Regions from separate parts of the Homo sapiens genome. Here all the other regions are linked to region 1. Evidence: promoter capture Hi-C in 16 types of primary human blood cells and fetal thymus (Javierre and others, 2016). All regions are on one chromosome and are shown on one strand. Each heading gives the region's core, a stretch centred on a gene start or on the middle of the fragment in contact. The rest is flanking DNA. Distances are from core to core; before and after follow the strand shown. Region 1 holds the start of SNHG12 (small nucleolar RNA host gene 12). Region 2 holds the start of PPP1R8 (protein phosphatase 1 regulatory subunit 8). Region 3 holds the start of TMEM200B (transmembrane protein 200B).

The links. Contacts are between HindIII fragments. The CHiCAGO score rates a contact against its expected background, and 5 or more counts as called.
Region 2: the fragment with the promoter of PPP1R8 here is called in contact with the fragment with the promoter of SNHG12 in region 1 in 6 of 17 cell types (neutrophils, naive CD8 T cells, non-activated CD4 T cells and 3 more); the score reaches 12.3 in neutrophils.
Region 3: a contact is called between the fragment with the promoter of TMEM200B here and the fragment with the promoter of SNHG12 in region 1, in 2 of 17 cell types (total CD4 T cells and naive CD4 T cells). The highest score is 8.1, in total CD4 T cells.

What each region holds. Positions count from the first base shown.
Region 1 is chr1:28,581,224-28,584,696 of GRCh38, reverse strand. SNHG12 (small nucleolar RNA host gene 12) reads left to right here and starts at 1,714. Exons shown (of 6, transcript NR_146382.1): 1 at 1,714-2,607; 2 at 3,468-3,473. RefSeq lists enhancers at 2,547-3,332, 3,333-3,473. The HindIII fragment of the contact is 3,732 bases long and covers 971-3,473 here.
Region 2 is chr1:27,828,944-27,832,416 of GRCh38, reverse strand. PPP1R8 (protein phosphatase 1 regulatory subunit 8) reads right to left here and starts at 1,635. Exons shown (of 7, transcript NM_014110.5): 1 at 1,526-1,635. The coding sequence starts at 1,581. LOC124903885 (a long non-coding RNA gene) reads left to right here and starts at 634. Exons shown (of 2, transcript XR_007065562.1): 1 at 634-1,668. RefSeq lists enhancers at 586-1,370, 1,328-1,497, 1,371-2,156 and a silencer at 1,628-1,707. The HindIII fragment of the contact is 9,216 bases long and covers 1-3,473 here.
Region 3 is chr1:29,122,337-29,125,809 of GRCh38, reverse strand. TMEM200B (transmembrane protein 200B) reads left to right here and starts at 1,907. Exons shown (of 2, transcript NM_001003682.4): 1 at 1,907-1,954. RefSeq lists enhancers at 1-773, 774-1,633, 1,634-2,493. The HindIII fragment of the contact is 10,456 bases long and covers 1-3,473 here.

The DNA of each region.
Region 1 (3,473 bases), core at 465-2,964:
CTCCCAAAGTGCTGGGATTACAGGCATGAGTTACTGTGCCTGGCCTTATTTATTTTTAAAGGCAGGGTCTCACTTTGTTGCCCAGGCTGACCTCCAGCTCCTGGACAGAAGTGATCCTCCTGTTTCAGCTTCCCAAGTAGCTGGACTACAGGTGATCCACTGCATCTGCCTTAATATAATATGTATATCTATCTATCTATATATACACACACATAGATATAGATAGATATATATAGATATATTTTTTGAGAGGGAGTCTCGCTGTATCACCCAGGCTGGAGTGCAGTGGCATGATCTTGGCTCACTGCAACCTCTGCCTCCCAGGTTCGAGCGATTCTTATGCCTTAGCCTCCCAAGTAGCTGGGACTGTAGATGAGTGTCACCATGCCTGGGTAATTTTTTTTTTTTGTATTTTTAGTAGAGATGGGGTTTTGTCATGTTGGCCAGGCTGGTCTCTAGTTCCTGATGTCAGGTAATCCACCTGCCTTGGCCTCCCGAATTGGTGGGAGCTACTGCGCCTGGGAGATATACATTTTTTCTTAATGGTTTTTTGACAGCTTTATTGAGGCATAATTGACACAGAATAAACTGCACAAGCCTGGGCGAAAAAGCGAGACTTCATCTCCAAAAAAAAAAAAAAAAGTTTAATAATTTTACTTTTTTTCTTTTTTTTTTGAGACGGAGTCTCGCTCTTGTCGCCCAGGCTGGAGTGTAATGGCTCCATCTTAGCTCACTTCAACCTCCGCTTCCCAGGTTCAAACGATTCTCCTGCCTCAGCCTCCCAAGTAGCTGGGATTACAGGCGCCTGCCACCACGCCCAGCTAATTTTTGTATTTTTAGTAGAAACGGGTTTTCACCATGTTGGCTAGGCTGGACTTGAAATCCTGACCTCAGGTTATCTGCCCCCTCGGACTCCCAAAGTGCTGGAATTACAGGTGGGAGCCACCGCGCCCAGCATAATTATTAAGCTTTTAAAGCGTAAACAAACGGCCGGGCGCGGTGGCTCGTGCCTGTAATCCCAGCACTTTGGGAGGCCGAGGCGGGTGGATCACGAGGTCAGGAAATCGAGACCATCCTGCCCAACATGGGGAAACCCTGTCTCTACTAAAAATACAAAAAATTAGCCGGGCGTGGTGGCGGGCGCCTGTAATCCCAGCTACTTGGGAGGCTGAGGCAGGAGAATGGCGTGAACCCGGGAGCGGGAGCTTGCAGTGAGCTGAGATGGCGCCACTGCACTCCAGCCTGGGCGACAGAGCAGCTCCGTCTCAAGAAAAAAAAAAAAAAGCATAAACTACAAAAAAAAAAATTGACTCTTAGACTTCATAAAAATTAAAAAACTTTTAGCAGGCTGGCTGGCGTGTGGAGACCAGACTGTCGGGAGCAACAGCAGGATCTGGGAGATAAGAGACTATTGCTATCATCTGGGTCAACGATTAGGGTAACATCAGTGGAAGGGGTAAGAAACAGTCAGATTATTGATACATTTTAAAGGTAGAGCACACAGGAGTTGCTGATGGCTTGGACATGTGATGTTAGAGAAAGAGAGGAGTCCAGGACCACAGGCATGCGCCCCCACGACCTGCTAAAGTAGTACTTACTTTTTATTTTATTTTATTTTTTTGAGACAGAGTCTCGTTCTGTTGCCCAGGCTAGAGTGCAGTGACGCGATCTCGGCTCTCTGCAAGCTCCGCCTCCCGGGTTCACGCCATTCTCCTGCCTCAGCCTCCCGGGTAGCTGGGACTACAGGCGCCCGCGACCACGCCCGGCTAATTTTTTTTTGTATTTTTTTTTAGTAGAGACCGGGTTTCGCCGTGTTAGCCAGGATGGTCTCGATCTCCTGACCTCGTGATCCACCCGCCTTGGCCTCCCAAAGTGCTGGGATTACAGGCGTGAGTAACCGCACCCGGCAGTAGTACCTACTTTTTAAAGTGTAAGCAAGGAAAGTTGGCCCGCACCTGTAGTCCCATCTACCTGGGAGGCTGAGGTGGAAGAATTGCTTGAGCCCAGTTGGTCGAGGCTGCAATGAGCCTTGATCACGCCACTGCACTCCAGCCTGGGCAACAGAACAAGACCCTGTCTCAAACAAAAAAGTGTATGTAAGAATAAAAATTAATAGATTAGGCACAGGATGGGTGTTTAATTCTCGGCAATCACCACTAAGTTTTCATACTGAGGCTTATTCATTCCATGGGCAAAACATTGCGCTATGTGTGGTGCCTGGGGTGGGCTCCAAATTCCAGTCCTCTCCTCGCTTGCGATAGCTGTGTGATCCATTCCTAAGTTTCCTTATTTGTCCACAGAGCGTACACAGGGTTTTTATGAAAACTAGATCAGATAATCAGACACAGTTAAAATAGCACGCGCTCAGTAAAATTACATATTAGTGGAAGAGACAAGCCTTGAATAAATCGCCTTTCGGGGAGTATGACCCCCTCCCCGAAACCCACTCAGGCGCTGCTCGCTCGCACGCCCACTGAGCTCGGAGCGGAGCCCGAGCCCTTTCCCAGCACACAGGGTTCATTTCCAGACTGAAAGACATCCCAGAGACAACTCCAGAGGCCAAGGCGGGTCGGCTTCCTGCGTGGGCCCAGCGCCGGGCACTGAAAGGTGAAGGCGCTTCTTCCGCTCGGAGGAAAGCCTCTGGCGGTTCTCGCTTCGCGGGCTCGGGATGGACACGCGCGTAGGGCTGGGGAGGTGACGCGCGGACAACGCCGGGGCGAGCAAACTACAACTCCCAGGCAGCTGTGCGCCACGCGGGCGGCCTACTGTCGGGTGTGGCCGCGAGGGGCGGCCTATATAAGCTCTTGCTCGCGGCTTCAGCGCCCTTTCTCCCCGCCGCATTCCCGGTGTCGACTTACTAGCTGCAAGCCTCTGCCTGCCTTCCTGCGCGCCGTTCCCCGCTAGTCGCTGCTGCTGGCGCGCACTCGCCGGGTTTTTCCTCCCACGGCCTCGAGATGGTGGTGAATGTGGCACGGAGGAGCCGGGCCTTCCAACCCGGTGGGCCCGAGCTCCGAAAGGCCCCCTCGGCAGTGAGAGGGGCGGGAGCCCGCGGGGGCCGCGCCCTTCTCTCGCTTCGGACTGCGCAACGCTGCGCTCTGGGCTGACAGGTGAGTGTTGCAGGCAGGCGGCCGGGTTTACGGAAGGGGTGGGGGTTTGGGAACCGGTCTCCTGGGGGATGCGGGGATGAATCCCTGGGCCTGAAGTGTCTTAATTCAGGGGGAGGCCGCATGCTGGTGTCAGGATGGCCTCCAGTTGAATCTGTGACATTTACCAGCTAGGTGATTTTGGGACTGGTGACTACGCGCGAGACCTCTGGAGGTCGCCCTGGTAGACACGGTTTTCAGAAGGACGGGTTTTAGGCATTCAGACCCTTGCGTGCATCCCAGCTTGTTGCTTTCAGCCTCGCTAAGTGACTAAGCGACCTTCAGGAAGTAACTTAATCGGTCTAAACCTCTTACCTGTAATAGGCGGAT
Region 2 (3,473 bases), core at 386-2,885, 750 kb after region 1:
GAAATCCACCCCTACTCCAATATCATATAAAGACCGAATAAATTAGTTGCTGTTTGGGGCTCATCAAGATTAGTCTCATCACAGAGTAAGCAAAGAGTACTGTCCTGAGCTCTGAAACCAAATCAGAGGTGCATAATTAGGGAACTAGGGCAATTCAAAATCATGCCCCATGAAACCAGGTACCAAATGAATATGTTACCCTTGAAACAGGTCTTTCTACAACAGCATGATTAGGGGACGTTTCCTCTATATCCTACAGCCATACCATTCAAGGGAGACTCATATGTCAAAGCACCTAACGGTGCCTGGTACCTACCAGATCCTAAGGAAAGGGTAGGTGATCTCAAAAACAGTGCTTTCTAACTATGTTTGCTATCTCGGCCCAAATTTGAAATCAATACAGCGAGGGATCAAAATGGATACAGAATTTGTAGACTGAAGCAACTACTACAAAAGTGCAAAGCGATCCAGAAAATAGCCACACATTTGCTTGCTTTTTGGGTTTGCTAATTTGAAGTTAGAAAAAAGAACCACCTCACTAGAACCTTTAGATTTGCACATGAAAAAACGTATCCTTGTCTAGCTAACTGAAGATTCAACACAGTCATCTCACAATCCTGCCCCAACCCCTCCTCTATGGAAAGGACAATGCACCGGACAAAAGGCCATTTTGTCCAGGAAAAAGGAGGAATGTTACATCCAAAACATACTTTCTGAATTCCTACTATGTGCCTGACTCAGGCCTAGGAGCTGGGAATACAAAGATGCAGTCTTTGCCCTTGAGGATGGCAATACAACGGGAGACAGAGACAAGCAACAAACAATACACTGCGATGAGCTACAGCAGAAAAAAACTCTTAATTCAGAAGCGTTTCCTTGTAAGGTAATTCATATTTATTCAACTTGTACCCTACTCAAAGACCAAATTAAATTATTTCATTATTCCCAAGAACTTTCGAAGGGATAAAAAGGGTTCATGCCAACCATTACTAATGCCTACTAGTGCCACAGACTGGGAGCTCCCTGAGGGCAGGGATGGCGCTAACCTACCCTCGTATTCTCTGTGGCAGACAGACAAGTGCCGCACGAGGGATGCAGCAACCACAGAGGGATGCGGGGCTTGGAGGTAGGGTTGGGGCCGGGGCTGGCTCGAGCGCGCTCGGGACGTACAGGAAGGGGCCAGATGCGATGCTCCACGAGAGCACCAGGCACTCAGTCAAGAGTTGGGCGTAAGTTCGGGCCAAGGCCTCGAAGCGCTCCGGCGACTGGCTAATCGCTCAAAGGGGCTGCCTAAGTGAGCGCCTTTGAGCCCCCAACCCCGGGTTTCTTCAGTTCCTGGGCCTGGGCTCCAGGCTCTCGGTTCTTCAACACGTCGCCCGGCCCGGTGCAGCAAACAGTTTTTCCTCAACCATTCCGGGGTTTCTGAGCCGTTCGGCTCGCAGCAGAAAAGTAAAAAAAGAGCCGCCCTTCCAGCCCAGGCTAGCTCCGGCCGGGCCACTCTAGCCCTGGCCGCCCCGCCACTCACCAGGTTGGGCAGTCGAACAGCGGGAGGCTAGAGCCGGAGTTCGCGGCTGCCGCCATCTTGCGTCTCCCCCTCCCATTTGGCGCGCCCTAAGCACGCCGGGAAACTGGAAGACCGAGAAGGGAAAAGCGGCATCCCAGCAGCCTGTGCGTACGCACGCTCACGCACGCCCGTACGGGGGGCGGTGCTTCTAGTGGGGACAGAGGAGCTTTTGGGATTTTTTTTTTTTCAGCGTTTGTGCGAGTTGGCCGTCTCTGGAAGTCTCCAGTGGTTAGGGTTTTCCTTGGCCAGGAGGTGTCAAAGGAAAAGGGGCTTTGTAGGGAGGGGAGTCAGTCTTTCCCTACGTCCTCCTGCAAACGCTTCTTGGCTCTAAAATCTTGGGACTAAGCCGTGCGCGATGGCTCACGTCTGTAATCCCAGCACTTTCGGAGGCTGAGGCGGGCGGATCACTTGAGGTCGGGAGTTTGAGACCAGCCTGACCAACATGGTGAAACCCCGTCTCTACTAAAAATACAAAAATTAGTCGAGTGTAGTGGCACATGCCTGTAATCCCAGCTACTTGGGAGGCTAAGGCAGGAGAATCGCTTGCACTCGGGAGGCAGAGGTTGCAGTGAGCCGAGATCGCGCCATTGCACTCCAGCCTGGGCAACAGAGCGAGACTCCGTCTCAAAAAAAAAAAAAAAAAAAGTAAAGAAAGAAAAAATCTGGGGACTACATCCTCCTCCAGAGTTTAGGTTAAGACCGTCAGCCTTTTGCCCTCAAAGCGGAGAAGCTAAAGGGCAAAACTCGGAGATTGGAGTGATTATTGTTTCTCTTCAGCCCTTCTCCAAAAAGTGGCACCCTACTCACTTTTTTCTAATTCACGTTTAGGCCTGTAGATTGTCAGGGAATCTGCATTAGGGGTCACCTAGTCTGTTTATGAAAACTCTGGACAAGCAGGAGCCAGGAGCAGGTCCAGTCAGAAAGCAGGGGTCCAAATCATCACTGTGCTTGGCTCAAATGGTTAATTTTTTTAAAAAGGATTTTTTGCTTTTGGTTATAGGGCAAGGAAGCATAAGGATTGCTCGCTTGCCCTAGATCACCAGCTGGTTTTAAGAGACCATTAGCAGGGCCTCTGGTTTTTTATTTTTTATTTTTTTATTGATCATTCTTGGGTGTTTCTCGCAGAGGGGGATTTGGCAGGGTCATAGGACAATAGTGGAGGGAAGGTCAGCAGATAAACAAGTGAACAAAGGTCTCTGGTTTTCCTAGGCAGAGGACCCTGTGGCCTTCCGCAGTGTTTGTGTCCCTGGGTACTTGAGATTAGGGAGTGGTGATGACTCTTAATGAGCATGCTGCCTTCAAGCATCTGTTTAACAAAGCACATCTTGCACTGCCCTTTATCCATTTAACCCTGAGTGGAGAGAGCACAGGGTTGGGGGTAAGGTCATAGATCAACAGGATCCCAAGGCAGAAGAATTTTTCTTAGTACAGAACAAAATGAAAAGTCTCCCATGTCTACTTCTTTGTACACAGACACAGCAACCATCCGATTTCTCAATCTTTTCCCCACCTTTCCCCCTTTTCTATTCCACAAAACCGCCATTGTCATCATGGCCCGTTCTCAATGAGCTGTTGGGTACACCTCCCAGATGGGGTGGTGGCCGGGCAGAGGGGCTCCTCACTTCCCAGTAGGGGCGGCCGGGCAGAGGCGCCCCTCACCTCCTGGATGGGGCGGCTGGCCGGGCGGGGGCTGACCCCCCCCCCACCTCCCTCCTGGACGGGAGGGCCTCTGGTTTTAATGGCATTGTCTGTTCAGCAGTTACCTGGGCAAGTATGTATTTTATATGGATCATCTCACTTAATCCTGACAATACTCTTGAGTTAGGTATTATTATAATTCCAGAGGAGAGGCTTAGAGAGATTGAGTTACCCAGCTTCACCCTAGAACAAGTGGAGTGGGATCAAAAAC
Region 3 (3,473 bases), core at 658-3,157, 540 kb before region 1:
TAAGAGGCCCGGGGCCAGTTCGTGGAGACAAGAAGAGATTTCCAACTCGATTTGGGGAGTCACTGATGGTTTTAAGCAGGTAGTGGCAGGCTCAGATTCAGAGTGGAAACCCTTGCTGCCTGTCTGCAGCGCACTAGGACACGGGGAGGCAGGAGACCATGGGCTCCAGGAGGAGCCTGGACGCCGGAGCAGGACAGTGGCCATGGGAAAGGGAGAACGTGGCTGGCCCCAGATGAAAAGAGCAGGGCCCCCAAGGCTCTGTGAGTGGGATGAGAGGGGGAGAGGAAGGGGCCAAGGCTGACCCCGTGCTTGGGTGGACAAAGGGCCCTTCACAGAGCTGGAGGCAGGGGATGATCGAGGGGCCCAGGGAGTCAGACTAGAAGCCGGGCTTATTGGAGGAAGAGCAGTGGGCTGGGAGAGGCAGGCATGGAGTGGGATTGAGGGAGCCCAGGGGTGGGAGGGAGAGCTGGGAGGCGGAGGTGCGACCGCGGTGGGGTCAGTGTGCGGGGAGTGGACGAAGCGGAGGATTGATGGGGGCGGGGGTCCCAAGCAAAGATGCTGGAGGGAGGCCTCCGTGGAGCGGACCGAGACCTCAGGAGCCTCCAGTCGGACTGGGGAGGCAAGAAGGAGGCCCTGGCTTCGATCTCGCACACGGCCTCGCAGGGATGAAGCCCGGGAGCCGAGGCTCGGTCTTCCCCACTGTGGTCCCTCTGGTCCGCCCGTTACCTCACCGACCCCCCGAGGGGGCTTTTAAGAGCTGGAAGAGGGGGTCCCGGGGGGCACTGATGCACCCCCACTCTCCTCCGCCGACCCAGAGGGTGGGAGCTCAGGTTCAAGGCCTGGCCTGGCCGTGCGGCTCCGGGACCCGGCTCCGCCCCGCGTCGGGGGGTGGCCCCGGCCCCTGGCCCGCCCCTTCCTCGGGTCCCCTCCCTGTCCGCGGCGCGCAGCCGGGTCTCATTAGCGCCCCTCCCCCCGGCTGCGCGCCGGGGGTCTCCACGGCCGGGGGGAGGGGCGGGCCTTAATCAATCCTAGGCCGGAAATTCCTCCCGGGGGGCCCGGCCTGACCGCTGAGCCTGGAAATCGGTCGCCGCCTCCCCCGAACCCGCCCCCCGCATCATGGAAACTGGGCCGACCGCCGGCCGCCCTGGCTCCCCCGCTCTGCATTCCTGCCTCCAGGGGCGGGAGGGCGCGAAGGCCGGGCCGCCCCCTTCGGGCTCGCCGGCGGGGTCGCAGCTCTCAGCACCCTCCCCGTTATTGGGAACAAGCCCGCTCCCCCACTGGCGAAGGGGCGCCTGTTCTTAGGAGTACCCGGCGGCACATCCGCACCCCGTCCGGTCCTTTCAGCTACAAGGCCCGCCCCTCCCCGGGCGCTGCTTTCGCTGAGGGCTTTGCGGAGTCGCCCCGGGCTGGCCCTTGGCGTCTGGCTCTTGCCTCTCGGCATCTTGCGAGGCTGAAGCCTTGGTGCCCATTGCACAGATGAAGTCCGCGAGGTTCAGCGACAGCAAGGGCTGCGGGACCGGGGCAGAGCAGGGACTCGGGCCGCCTCCTCCTGGAAGCTCCCCGGGCGCCTGGGATGAGGGGCTCTGGGAAGCGGGGAAGGACGTGCGGGTGTCGGGGCTCCTGGGTCCCGGGTCTCAGTTTCCCCATGTAGGAAGGGGTCGCCTTTGTGGGCCTTTGCGACCGATGTAAGCTGGGGGTGGGAGAGTGGGGATGGCAGAACTCGGGCCACGGGTGCCCGGAGTCACCAGGCGCGCACAGGGCGCCTACCTGCGATCCTTTGACCTGAGCTGCCGCCTTTCAGCGGCGGTGGGGCCGGGCCCGGCGCGGGTCGGACGGTCCCGGGGGCTGGAGGCGGGGCCGGGGCGGGGCTGGGGCCGGGCCGTGGAGACCCGGGCGGCTCTGGAGCCTCCGCGCGCGGACTGGGACCCGGACCCGCGCGGCGCTGCGGCGCCAGGTGAGCCGAGCTGGGGTCCAGGGGTCCGCACTCCACTTTTCCCAACTTTTCGTTTGGTCCCTCCCTCCCTCCCTCCCTCCCTCGGTCAGGGCCCCTGGGGGCGGGAGCGCGGCCCTCCCGTTCCCCCAGGCGGGAGTGTGGACGCGGGCGGTGGCGGGACCCTGGAGTCCTGGGGACTCGGCCCCAGCATCTTCTGTCGGGCTGTGCGCTGTGTCCCCAAGTTTCCGCCTCCCTGGTGTCCCCAGCGTCGGCCCACTACCTCCACGGCTCGGGGTCTCTGAGCGTGTCCCCATGTCCCCACTCTGCTTGTTTTCGCTTCCCTCGCGGCAGCGACGCGCGGGGCTCCGGGTGACCTTGCTGGAGCCGGGGCTGAGAGCGCCAGTTCTGGCTTGAAGCGATGATCGCTCCTCCGGTTGCGGGCTGGGGAAAGGGCTGCAAACTCAGGGACAAGGAGGGGATGGGCCTCGCTTCCTCCTGGATACTCCCGTGGCTGTCCTGAGAGGGGTCTAGGGCTGGGGCCCCGGAGCCCGGCGTCGGACCTGGCAGAGCCCCCGCCTAGTGCGGGGTCGGGCAGTCTCCCCGGCCTCCCTGGGCCGTAGTTGCAATCTGTGAAACCAGGCTTTGGACGCGGGAGAGTGGCGGCTCCCTGCTAGGCCCGGGCCTTGAGCGCTCCAGTCGGAGGCAGGGATGGGTGTCCTGCTTTGAGGTTTGGGGTGCAGATGGGGCGTGGGTCGGGGAGCAAGGCCGCCTCCCCGAGGTTTCGGCTGCGGGCTCCAGCGCGGTGGTTCTTTAGGAAGCGGACGCGAGCAGTGAGGACGACCCTGGACAGCTAGGCCCTGAGCCTCCTCTCCTGCGGCCTGGGGCGCCTGGGCGGGGGCCGCGTCTTCTCCCTCGCCCTCCCTTTCGTGGGGGCCACACCGCACGCAGCTCGGCTACTCCTGCTGGGCCCGGGATCCAGGCCACAGGCCGCAGGCAGGGCGCGGCCAGCAATCGGGAGGGCTTAAGCTGTGCGGCCCGGATCCCGAGGCGCAGGGGCGGTGCTGCTCTGACCGGGCCACGGGCCACGGAGGCCTCGGGCGGAGGAGGCGGGAAAGGAGGCCAGGCGGCGGGAAAGGGGGATGATTCATCCGGAGGAGCCCGAATTGGAAACGTCGCAACCTGGGAACAGCCTTGCCCGGGCCGACGGGGGAGCCGGGAGGGCATCCGTCCGGCGGGGCCCAGCGCCCGGCACCGGCACCCCCGCCTGCTGCCGTGGCCCCAGCACGACCGCTGGGGGAGGGAGAGGCCTCTCATGCGTGGACTTGATGGAAATCTTGGGCGAAGTCGGCGCCGCCTCTCCTCCTCTGCCTGGCTGGTCTTGATCCGAGCGGTCTTCCCGGTGTCTAGCTCAAGTCGCTCCTGCTGCAGCTTCGCTGCGGGCGGAGGAGGTCTGGAAGGAGGGGGCGGGCAGGGAGAGGCTGGAGCCGGTGACGCCCCCTCCTCCCGCGCTGCGGTATGTAAAGCACAGTAGGGGGGAGGT